Regions from separate parts of the Homo sapiens genome. Here all the other regions are linked to region 2. Evidence: promoter capture Hi-C in 16 types of primary human blood cells and fetal thymus (Javierre and others, 2016). All regions are on one chromosome and are shown on one strand. Each heading gives the region's core, a stretch centred on a gene start or on the middle of the fragment in contact. The rest is flanking DNA. Distances are from core to core; before and after follow the strand shown. Region 1 overlaps LMBRD2 (LMBR1 domain containing 2). Region 2 holds the start of GOLPH3 (golgi phosphoprotein 3). Region 3 overlaps LOC124900962 (a long non-coding RNA gene). Region 4 has its middle 6.9 kb from the start of NIPBL-DT.

Region 1 (2,766 bases), core at 215-2,714, 4.0 Mb after region 2:
AAAAAAAAACCATCATAATATTTTTTAAAGGTACCTAAGAGCTGAGTTGGCGAACCAACCAGGTAACCTGAATTCCAAAATGTGACAAGCCCCTGAGGACAGTGGCATACTGTCCTGCTTTACCTTTTGCAAGGCATGAAGAGAAGAGGTAGCAATCATGTAAGCATATAAGAAAAAAGAACTAAAATTTTACTGAATTCTTAAAGATTTCATACATAGAAATTGCAAGACATTTTGATAGAGAATAATCTGTAAAGTCCTTCCTAATAATAAAATAATTTCAAAAAACGAATAGCTAACATTTAGAATGTGTTCACTAAATTTTAAGCATTGTATTAATACTAGTACCTGCCAAGCTTTATCAAATTAGACCTCACAACCTAGTAAGAAAGGGCTGTTCGTTTCCTTGCTTAACAGAAAAAAAACAGTGCAGAGAGGTTAAGTAACTTGTCCAAGTTAACAGAGCTGGTGAATGGTAAAGCTGGGATTCAAATAGAGGCATCTTTACTACAGAGCCTGGATCATAATTACATGTCTCTTCTCTAATCTAGACATAGTTTCTTAATGCAATTTAAATTGCTTAATGATTTATTTTGTTCAGTCTTCACAGGGAACAAATTAGAAACTTTCTCCCATTTCTTTTAGATATATCAGGACAGAATGCTTAGTCATGTTTAATAAAGAATTTAACGCAAACTTTTTACATTACAGATTATACTACTATTACTTGATTTAAGGGTAATATATGACTGTACTCTACATGGGAAAAGTGGAAAACATAGAGTAAATTAGAATCCGTTTGTTCTTGCCCCAAGCTGCCTATCTTAGAGCATTAAATTACAATGAATTAAAGATCTACTTAGTTCCAAGCACCATTCATTCATTTAGCAAATATTTACTGAACGCCTACTATATGGTGAGCTCTGTTCAAGGGGCTGGAGATAGAAAAATCCAAGCAAAGTCCCTGCCCTTAAAAAGTCTAGTGGGAAGAAACAGGCAATTAAAAAAAATACATTAGGGGGTGATAAGGGTTATGTAAACAGGTAGCTGCCACCACCACAGAGACTATCAGTTCTGGAAATACATTATTCAAGATTAGTTTGGCTACACATAACAGAAAAGTCCAATATAGTACAGACTTATACAATGCAGAATTTATTTCTCGTGTAAGTCTTGAGATAGGTGGTTATGGCAAGTTAGCAGATTATCAGAGGCCCAGGCCCCTTCTATAGTCCACATCCTTAGCAGGTGGCTTTAATCCTTATGTTCCAGGACAGATGCTGGAACTCCAGGAATCCTATCATCATCTAGACAGCAGGATGGAGAAACAAAGAAGGGTGGACCGTCTTCCTTTTAAAGAGATGTAAGAATCGGCTGGGCACGGAGGCTCACGCCTGTAATCTCAGCACTTTAGGAGGCTGAGGTGGGTGGATCATCTGAGGTCGGGAGTTCGAGACCAGCCTGACCAACATGCAGAAACCCCGTCTCCACTAAAAATACAAAATTAGCCAGGCGTGGTGGCGCATGCCTGTAATCCCAGCTACTCAGGAAGGCTGAGGCAGGGGAATTGCTTGAACATGGGAGGTGGAGGTTATGGTGAGCCGAGATTGCGCCATTGCACTCCAGCCTGGGCAATAAGAGTGAAATTTCTTCTCAAAAAATAAAAATAAAATTAATCAGAAAAAATAAGATACATCAGTAGCAATCACAATGCAGTTCTTTATGACCAGATAGCAACCTCTATGTACCTACTAATCTCGTCTTCAATGGACACAATTCCTTACGTTAAAAAGAATCTAATGTACCAATTTAAACTTGCATTTATTATATTAAGGCAATAGTCATGATTAGAAGGAAGGCAAAAAAAAATTATTCCCATATTAGGAAGATGAAGTATGTCTGTTACCGGGGCAAACTATCAAACTGAATTTCAAAACTGACAGGCTCTCCCTGAAGTCCTAGAGAGGATCTTGTGTTCACTAATTCAGATGTTGCAAGTATTCTAGTTCCCAGGTAACTCCTAGTAAAACCAAGACTGAACAAAGATATTTCTCATCTTTAAATTTAGAATCATCTCATCGATTAAACCTTCCTATCTATGAGATCTATATCTGAAGTGGGCTCTCCCAATTATTTTACATCTCAAAACTGTTTATTCTCATTATGGCATCTTAAATATTTTTGTTTATTCTTTCTCCTCCATTAGCTTACAGGCTCTCTCTGTTTTGTTCCCTTTCCTGAAGGAAACTATAATTTTTTGTGTCAAAAATATTTTCTCCTATGAGTTGCAATCTTCAGGGAAAGGACGTAGCTTCAAACAAAGGCAAATGCTTTCTCCTTAGCCAAAGTAACATAAAGGTCACTTTCTGTAAAACATCAGGATATTGCATTTTAAAATGCTTTCCATATAACATTAGTTTGATGAACGGCTTAGCCTAGGATTCTGCACCTAGTTCCAATCAAAACCAAGTTGTGAACAGATCCCTTCTTTACACCAATCTCATCTTTCAAGAACGAGCTAAAGGTTCATGAATTCCTTCCTCAAGAGGCAGTTACTTTTCAAGCTAAGGACCAAGCTTGAAACAAGCATATACCTGCACAAGGGAGGTTTAATTTCACTACAGAGCGAATCATTTTTTCAAGGAAACCAGAGGGTGTGTCATACAGCATCACTGAATATTCTAATATGCGATGAAGCTGTTATGCTTCCTTATGAACTTTATAAATCTTCATTTTTATGAGGCTTAGAATTCATCCCCCTTCCCT
Region 2 (2,721 bases), core at 89-2,588:
AAATTTTGGACACTGAAGTGAAAATAAACGCTTTCAAAGTCAGAATACAAAGAATTATCTATTGCAACTTCAACCCACCTGAAGCTTTGAGGCCTCTGATCAACTCACAAACCTACATTTCAAGCACTCGATGAAAAAGCCCTTTCTTAAGACGGCAAGACTTTGAGATTCATCAACTGATAAAATATAAAAGCGATACTAAAAATAATCTCTCACCTAATGTAAGTTCACCTAGAAAGTCATTTACCAGGAGGTTTCATGAGAAACTTAACTTAACTTTACTCAGTAAAAGAGCTTTTCCCTCTATTACCACTTCGCCTACGTTTTTCGTAATTCCCAACAGTAAGCTTTAACTGAAGAAGAAGAAAAAAAAAACATCCCCAGCAAGCAGATCCGGGCACCCCTCCCAGGTCCTAAAGCCTGCAAAAACCCAAAGAGTTCGTGGCGCTGGTGGCTCCAGCTGTTAGTTTCCCGGGCAGTCTCCGGGTTGGATTTGCACCCTGGGGTCTACACGGGTTAAAAACGCGGAAAAAAGGCGACGAAGAAATACAAACTGCCAGGGTGTCGAAATGAAAGGAGCGACTGTGAAAGGGGTAAGGAAAAATCCAAGCCATCTCTACGGGGAGGATCCAGAAAGCACCAGCCGCGCCAGGGGGTCAACCAACTCCGACACCGCTCGGCGTCAGCTGGGCGCCACCAGGCGCGGACTTCGGAGCGAGGGCAGGTGCGCGGGCCGGAAGCCTCGGGCGCTCACCTGGCACCTACCTGGAGCTCACCTGGCGCCCGGGCCCCGCGCCGCCGCCCCCCGCCCAGCCCGCCGCGCCCGCACCTCGCGGTCCTTGAGGCCCAGCAGGAGCACTTCCTCCATCAGGGTCAGCCGCGTTTCCTTGGAGTCGCCCTTGTCGTCGTCGTCCTGCTCGTCGCGGCGGCTCTGCGCGTCGTCCTCGCTGCTGCCGGCGCCGCCGCCCGCCGCCCGCTCCTTGTCGGCGGCGTTGCGGGAGGCCTCGGTGCGCCGCTGCACCAGGCCGGAGCTGCGCTGGGTCAGCGAGGTCATGGCTCCCGCCGAGGCGCCGAGCCGGGCCGAGAGGGTCGCAGGACCGACCGGGTCGCCCTCCTCCTCCCCGCGCGGCCTCCGATCCGGGTTTCCGTGTTAAATCCGGACGCCGGGGCGACGTCCGTCGGCAGCAGGGCCGGGGGCAGTCATGAGGAAACAGGTCAGGGCGAAGCGGGCTGGCCGGGCGTCGGCGGGGCAGGAGAGGAGCGCCTTCCTGCCTGTGGCCGCAGTCCCCGAAACACCCCGAGCTCCAAGGCGGAGGCGGCGGCGGCGCCTTTCCAATATGGCGGCCCCGGCTGACGTCACCGGAGGATGTGGCAGAGTCGGCGCGGGAGAGCTGGGCCGGGAGGCGCCGGAAGCGGCGGCCGGGGATCCGCTGCCACTGCAGCCTACACCCTTCCCGGCCCTCGGTGCTTGTCTTTTCTTTGGCGTTCCTGCGCCCCCTGACCCGCGGTCCTGCAGTCCTGCTCCCGTGACGTGCCCTCCCTCCTTCCGTTCCCCGTTTCCCCTTCACTACCCAGGGCTGGAGCCTGAACCTGGCGGGGCCCCCCGTGAATGGAAGAGCCTGGGCCACGCGAAGGTGGACCCCACTCAGCCTCCAGCCGTGCCCTCCACGCCCCAGACACCGCCGTCTTCGGAGGCGACTCCGCGGTCGTGTGGACGGGGTCCCATTTGGACTCCGGGGTCTGCAGGATCGGCAGGAAGGACTTTGCTCTCTGCTGCTGGGCGGGGAGGGGTACGCTATCTGCCGGGACTCCCTAACCCTTTAGAAGGAGCAAGTGCGTCCAAATGGTTTGAAAGTGGACCTTTATTGTTTTCCAGGAGTAAGAAGATAGAACAGTTGACCAGTTTTGTTTGTAAAACTTCTTTCCTTGCCTCGGACTTGTGCTATAAAGTGACCAGGGCGTAGTGAGTACAGTTAGTACCGCACACGTTAGCACGCTCGACCTTAACGATCTTTTTATAGAGACAATAAACCTGCAGCGTTTCATGCCACGTCTTTGTACGCATCGGATGTCTCTCCGTGTAGTTACTAGGTGAAATCCTCTTGGCGTGCGCAAATTAGGTTAAAAAAATAGCTGTCAAACCTGAGACAGGAGTTGGAGGAGTAGAGGGTGGCGCTTGTTAAGTGAAACATTTAACCAGGAATGGTATTGTGTGCCATCCTGTATTAAACAATGTATGGACAGAGTGGAACAACAGCAAAGCAAAAAATAAAAATTTTTTAAAAAAAGTGATCATGGGCTGTGGCTAAAGAGTGCTTTAGATGGATTCTTCTCTTCCACAAATCCATTATCCAGAACTGCTGCTGCCTACCATCCCATGCCCTGGAAAGTGACAGTGCTAAATGAAGGGAAGAGAGGGTCCAGGGGGCACACCAAGTAGACCTTCCCTTTTTCCCACCTGTCTTGGTGAAGGTCGATTTCACCTCAACCAATTTCTCCCATTCACACCCTCTTTTTTTTTTTTTTTTTTTTTTTTTTGAGACGGAGTCTTGCTCTGTTGCCCAGGCTGGGGTGCAGTGGCACAATCTCGGCTCACTGCAAGCTCTGCCTCCCGGGTTCACGCCATTCTCCTGCCTCAGCCTCCTGAGTAGCTGGACTACAGGCGCCCGCCACCACGCCTGGCTAATTTTTTGTATTTTTAGTGGAGACGGGGTTTCACCG
Region 3 (2,796 bases), core at 297-2,796, 4.1 Mb after region 2:
CCCACTACTTTGCTAATTACTGCTGTTTCCAAGGTGACCAAAAGATCTTGTTGGAACTCAAAAGACTTTTTTCAGTTCTTTAATTGATTGATCTTTCCAAAGAATTTGAAATGGTTATCATTTCTTCTTGAAATCTTTTACTGTCTCCCAACATACCAGTCCCTAACAGTGTTTCTCCCATCTCTATGTCCCTTTTTGACTTCTTCCTAAACCCATCTCCAAGATGTCTTCTGTCCTCGTCTCCTTGTCTCTTCTTCTCCGTCTTTTTTCCTTCTCTCTCTCTCTCTCTGTCACACACACACGCTCCTGAGTTCATTCAGTGTTGTGTAATGGAAGGATCTTGGTTCAAATCTCAGTTTTATTGTTTATTAGCTTTGTGAAACTTGAACTGGTTGTTTAACCTTCCTGAGACTACTTCTGCATTTATAAAATATAATTGCTACCTTGTAAAATTGTGAATATATGCACAGATGCTTAGCACTGTGCCCATTACACAGTAGACACTTGGCAAATATTAGCCCCTTTCATGACCTCAGCTATTACTGGCATCTTTAGCCCAGATCTTTCTCTTGAATTTCCAATCCTTATCTAGTTTCCTTTTAGATAATGTCTCTTAAATCTTACACATGTAACACACATTCGTGGAGATTAAATTAAATTTGAGTGTCACTGTAGGCCAGGCATCCTGCTAGGTGCTACAGATGAAATGATAAAAAGCTTCCATGCCCTTGAGGAGCCTAAAGTCTATGCAGTGATAGAGTTATACACAGAATGCTGAGAAATTTGGAGGAGCAAGTCTCAAGTCAACCTAACAAGAGTTAGAGAAGGCTTTTTGGGAATGTGAAGAGCTAAGCCTTAAGTAATGAATTCAATATTAGCCATTATCAGCAAGAATGAGAAGGAAATTCCACAGAAGAAACACCATGAACAAATGCATAGAAGCAATGAACTAGCAATTTTGAAATTTTAGAGAATTTAGAGAGAGGCAGGCAACATGGGGAAGTGAGGCTAGAGAGGTAGACAAGGGTAAAGACAATGGAAAATGTTAAATCCATGCTTAGGAACCTGCCTTTTATCCTGCATATATTAGGAGGCAACCAAAAGGAGAAAATGACATGATTAGCTTTGCAAAAATTGTGAATTTTTTTTTTTTTGAGATGGAGTTTCGCTCTGTCGTCCATACTGGAGTGCAGTGGTGCAATCTCAGCTCACTGCAACCTCCGCCTCCCGAGTTCAAGGGATTCTCCTGCCTCAGCCTCCAGAGTAGCTGGGACTACAGGTGCGTGCCACCAGGCCTGGCTAATTTTTTGTATTTTTAGTAGAGACAGGGTTTCACCATCTTAGCCAGAATGGTCTCGATCTCCTGACCTCATGATCCACCCACCTCGGCCTCTCAAAGTGCTGGGATTACAGGTGTGAGCCACTGTGCCCAGGCGTGAGCAGGAATTTTTTAGAAGAAACACAAACAGTGAATAAATACTTGAAAAGATAACCTTATTGGAAATTAGAGAAATACAAATAATGTCATTGTGAAATAATATTTTATATCCACTAGATTGGTAGAAATTAAGAAATCTTGGTAACACTCTGTTAGAAAACTTATCCATATCAAGTCTTGATTAGGCTAAACATTAGCTAATCATTTCAATAATTCTTCCTTCCAGTGCCATAGTTTACAAATATCTTTTTTTTTTTTTTTTCCTGAGACAGGGTCTTACTCTATCCCCTAGGCTGGAGTGCAGTGGCACTGCACCGCATGGCTCACACAGCTGCAACCTCCCAGGCTCAGGCAATCCTCCTACCTCAGCCTCCCAGGTAGCTGGGATTACAGATGCGTGTCACCATGCCCTGCTAATTTTTTTTTTTTTTTGAGATGGAGTCTCGCTCTGTCACCCTGGCTGGAGTGCAGTGGCACCATCTCGACTTACTGCAACCTCCGCCTCCCGGTTTAAGCAATTCTCGCCTCAGCCTCTCGAGTAGCTGGGATTACAGGTGCATGCCACAACGCCTGGCTAATTTTTGTATATTTAGTAGAGACGGGGTTTCACCATCCTGGCCAGGCTGGTCCTGAGAACTCCTGACCTCATGATCCGCCTGCCTCGGCCTCCCAAAGTGCTGGGATTACAGGCGTGAGCCACCACGCCCAGCCACCCTGCTAATTTTTAGAAATTTTTGTAGAAATGGGGTGTTGTGCAATGTTCCCCGGGCTGGTCCTGAACTCCTGGGCTCAGGCAATCCGCCGACCTCACCCTCCCAAACAAAACTGCTGGCATTCATGGATTTTTGAGTTTTAAACTCAGACTCCATCTATGGTGAGGCTGGTGTGCTTTTCTAGTAAATGAGTCTAGCCAACCATGTGATAGCCATATCTCAAGCAAGCTTAACTGTTCTCAACATTTTATGGGGAAAATTATATATCACTGTGGTATTCACAACTTGAAGATTTACAGAGGTTTTAAAATATATCCTTCCCAACCCCCAGAACCCTTCCCACCCCCACTTCATGTTCATTCTGACTCTATGAAAGACATATATACCTCTTTTTATGACATTCAAATACTCTAAGACCTGTATAGCAGGGGTCCACCACCCCCGAGCTGTGGACCAGTATCGGTCCCTGGCCTATTAGGAACCGGGCCACACAGCAGGAGAGGAGCGGCAGGCAAGGGGGTGAAGCTTCATCTGTATTTACAGTTGCTTCCCATAATTTGCGTTACTGCCTGAGCTCTGCCTGCTGTCAGATCAGAGGCAGCATTAGATTCTCATAGGATGCAAACACTACTGTAAACTGCTCAT
Region 4 (2,700 bases), core at 26-2,525, 4.7 Mb after region 2:
TCGTGATCTGCCTCCCTCGGCCTCTCAAAGTGCTGGGATTACAGGCGTGAGCTACCGTGCCCGGCCAGAATCTTTTAGATTATTAAATGAAAACTAGATAAAACAGAAATACCTATACTACATATCATAGATGCTGAAATGTTGACTTTGGTGACAAAGTTACTAGTTTTTATTGGACTTTGACATGAGTTAACCCATTACTATGTTTATCAATAAGGAATAGTTCATGGTAAAGCTATTGCACTTTATTAATTTAATGTTTAAAAGTTCATAATAGCTATTTTTCATGAGTGGAAACATTTAAAAGCTTAGGCTGTTTATGCAATTCTAATAGCCCATATTCATCACAACTCGTGTGTAAAGGAAACAAATAATTAGAAGTAGTAATACTGGTGGCATTGAGGGTTTTTTGGCATTAAAATGTCTCTAGGCTGGGCGCAGTGGCTCACGCCTGTAATCTCAGCACTTTGGGAGGCCGAGGCAGGCGAGATCGCACCACTGCAGCACTCCAGCCTGGGTGACAGAGACTCTGTCTTAAACAAACAAAAAAAAATGTCTCTAGGACTGATGAGCTGTACATCTTGGATATTATCGCTGTGATTAACTGACTTGACACCAAATGCCAATTTATAAAATAATGCCAGTATAATATAGCATTATAAAAGAATATACCCTTCAAAAAGTTTAAAGTCTACTTTCTAGTACTCAAAATCAAATAATTTGCTTTTTATTTTTTATTTTTTGGCTGGAGATCGGAGTTTTATTATAACTCAAATCAGTCTCCTGGAGCATTTGGGGATCAGTTTTTAAGGATAATTTGGTGGGTGGGGGAAGGCAAGTGAATAGAGTGTGCTGATTGGTTGGGTTGGAGATGAAATCATAGGGAATTGAAGCAGTCCTCTTGCTCTGAATCAGTTCCTGGGTGGTGGCCACAAGATCAGATGAGCCAGTTTATTGATCTGGGTGGTGCCAGCTGATCCATCAAGTGCAGGGTCTGCAGAATATCTCAAGCACTGATCTTAGGAGCAGGTTAGGGAGGGTCAGAATCGTGTAGCCTCCAGCTGCATGACTATTAAACTATAATTTCTAATCTTGTGCCTAATTTGTTAGTCCTACAAAGGCAGTCTAGTCCCATAAATGATTTGCTTCTAAGTATCACTTTCTTGAAATCACTGGTGGCATACTGAATTTGTATGATTGTTCATATATCAATGAAATTAAATCTTTCAATAAAATTTAAGAAGTTTGTCTACTTCATAATGAAGATATGCTCCACGTCCTATGGAGATAGTGCTTAAGAAGTATATTTTTGAAAGGAATAAACACATGAGTAAAAGTATATATGGTATGTTTCCACAAACCTTGAAACGAGTAAGGGGCTAGACTAGCTAATTCATTTGGTTATTCAACTAAAAATGTTTGGGTCTTTACATTTATTTTGATGCAGTTAGCTAACGCTCAGCTCTTATACTTTTACTTCAAATAATATATAGATCACATCTATTCATTCAATATGCACCCATTCTATCAGGCATTTTGAAGTTCTTAGACAAAATTAAATAAACTGACATAATCACTTAGCTACTAGATTCCTCCAAACATCTCTCACAAAACAGATATTACTTTATTTGTTGTGTTTATAAACAGTAGTGGAAACAATTCTGTTCTCTAATTTTAAGCTGAAAAATCATGTCCTTATTAATTCACTGTAATAATTTTTTATTAAATTTTATCCCTTATTTCTTAGATTAAATGCACATAAATTTGATGTACAACTTTATAGTTTTAAAATGTGTCTATTTATGGCCTAATTTCAACTTTAAGTGAAAATGGAATTATTAAGAAATATTCACTGTTACATTTGGCTAGCAATTCATCATGGCATTAAGGTACTGTTTTCCATGGTTTTTCCATCTTGGGTTATAATACTGAGACATTTCACTTGTATAGTTCTGCATTCAATTTTTCTTCCAATTTATTTCCTGCAAGGTAATTCTAAGTTATAATTGTCACTGTATCCTTATTTGATACATTGGTCGCCTTTCTCTCCTTATGACTGTCTTTTTGGTAAACTCAAAAAGTGAGCAGGGGCCATACAGTTAAATTCAAAACAGGAAGTCATATGATGTTCCTTTATACTCCTACCTTTCATGATTGACTTGGCTCCCTCTGCTGGTTAGTAATATAATTCCTTTCTTAGTTCAATAGGGTATGTGTTAACATTGGTGAAATATCTGGGGTGAATAAGCTTGGAGTTAGAGCTTCTTATATGTTGATTCTCTAGCAAATTTTGTGTTTAGCTAAGGTTTTAACCAACCTAGGCCTTACTTATCTATAATGGAAAGGGACTTGGTATCACATGCCTGAAAAACAAAATTTTTATTAATGCCGTCTTAAATAGACTTGCCAACATTACAATACTGAAATCTACAAATAGCAAATAAAGTGAAAGAGTAATGAAATATTTAAATTGTATTAAAATATTTCAGTATAATATAATCCTTAACTTATTTGCTTTCTGGTTAGATACTTTTCATTCTACTCATGCAATATAATGCCTCCTTTTTAAATTCTATACACAATTTCTTCCTTCTTAAGTTTCCCCCTTTTAAATCCTATACACAAGTGTAAGTACATTTATTTAAATATATAGAATGAGTTGGATGGCAAATGAGAGTTACCTATTTAAGAACTTATTTA

What was found. Contacts are between HindIII fragments. The CHiCAGO score rates a contact against its expected background, and 5 or more counts as called.
Region 1: a fragment that was not itself captured here is called in contact with the fragment with the promoter of GOLPH3 in region 2 in 5 of 17 cell types (total CD4 T cells, non-activated CD4 T cells, total CD8 T cells and 2 more); the score reaches 6.6 in total CD4 T cells.
Region 3: a fragment that was not itself captured here is called in contact with the fragment with the promoter of GOLPH3 in region 2 in 1 of 17 cell types (total CD8 T cells); the score reaches 5.9 in total CD8 T cells.
Region 4: a contact is called between a fragment that was not itself captured here and the fragment with the promoter of GOLPH3 in region 2, in 1 of 17 cell types (total CD8 T cells). The highest score is 6.2, in total CD8 T cells.

The regions. Positions count from the first base shown.
Region 1 is chr5:36,148,253-36,151,018 of GRCh38, forward strand. The region is part of intron 1 of LMBRD2 (LMBR1 domain containing 2); the gene reads right to left. Among named protein-coding and RNA genes, the nearest start is that of MIR580, 1.6 kb to the left of the region's middle. The HindIII fragment of the contact is 2,220 bases long and covers 355-2,574 here.
Region 2 is chr5:32,172,981-32,175,701 of GRCh38, forward strand. It overlaps GOLPH3 (golgi phosphoprotein 3), which reads right to left and starts at 1,339. Exons shown (of 4, transcript NM_022130.4): 1 at 830-1,339. The coding sequence starts at 1,054. RefSeq lists a silencer at 623-1,232. The HindIII fragment of the contact is 5,568 bases long and covers 346-2,721 here.
Region 3 is chr5:36,243,884-36,246,679 of GRCh38, forward strand. The region is part of intron 1 of LOC124900962 (a long non-coding RNA gene); the gene reads left to right. Among named protein-coding and RNA genes, the nearest start is that of NADK2, 3.4 kb to the left of the region's middle. The HindIII fragment of the contact is 1,662 bases long and covers 716-2,377 here.
Region 4 is chr5:36,868,470-36,871,169 of GRCh38, forward strand. No RefSeq gene overlaps it. Among named protein-coding and RNA genes, the nearest start is that of NIPBL-DT, 6.9 kb to the right of the region's middle. The HindIII fragment of the contact is 1,941 bases long and covers 306-2,246 here.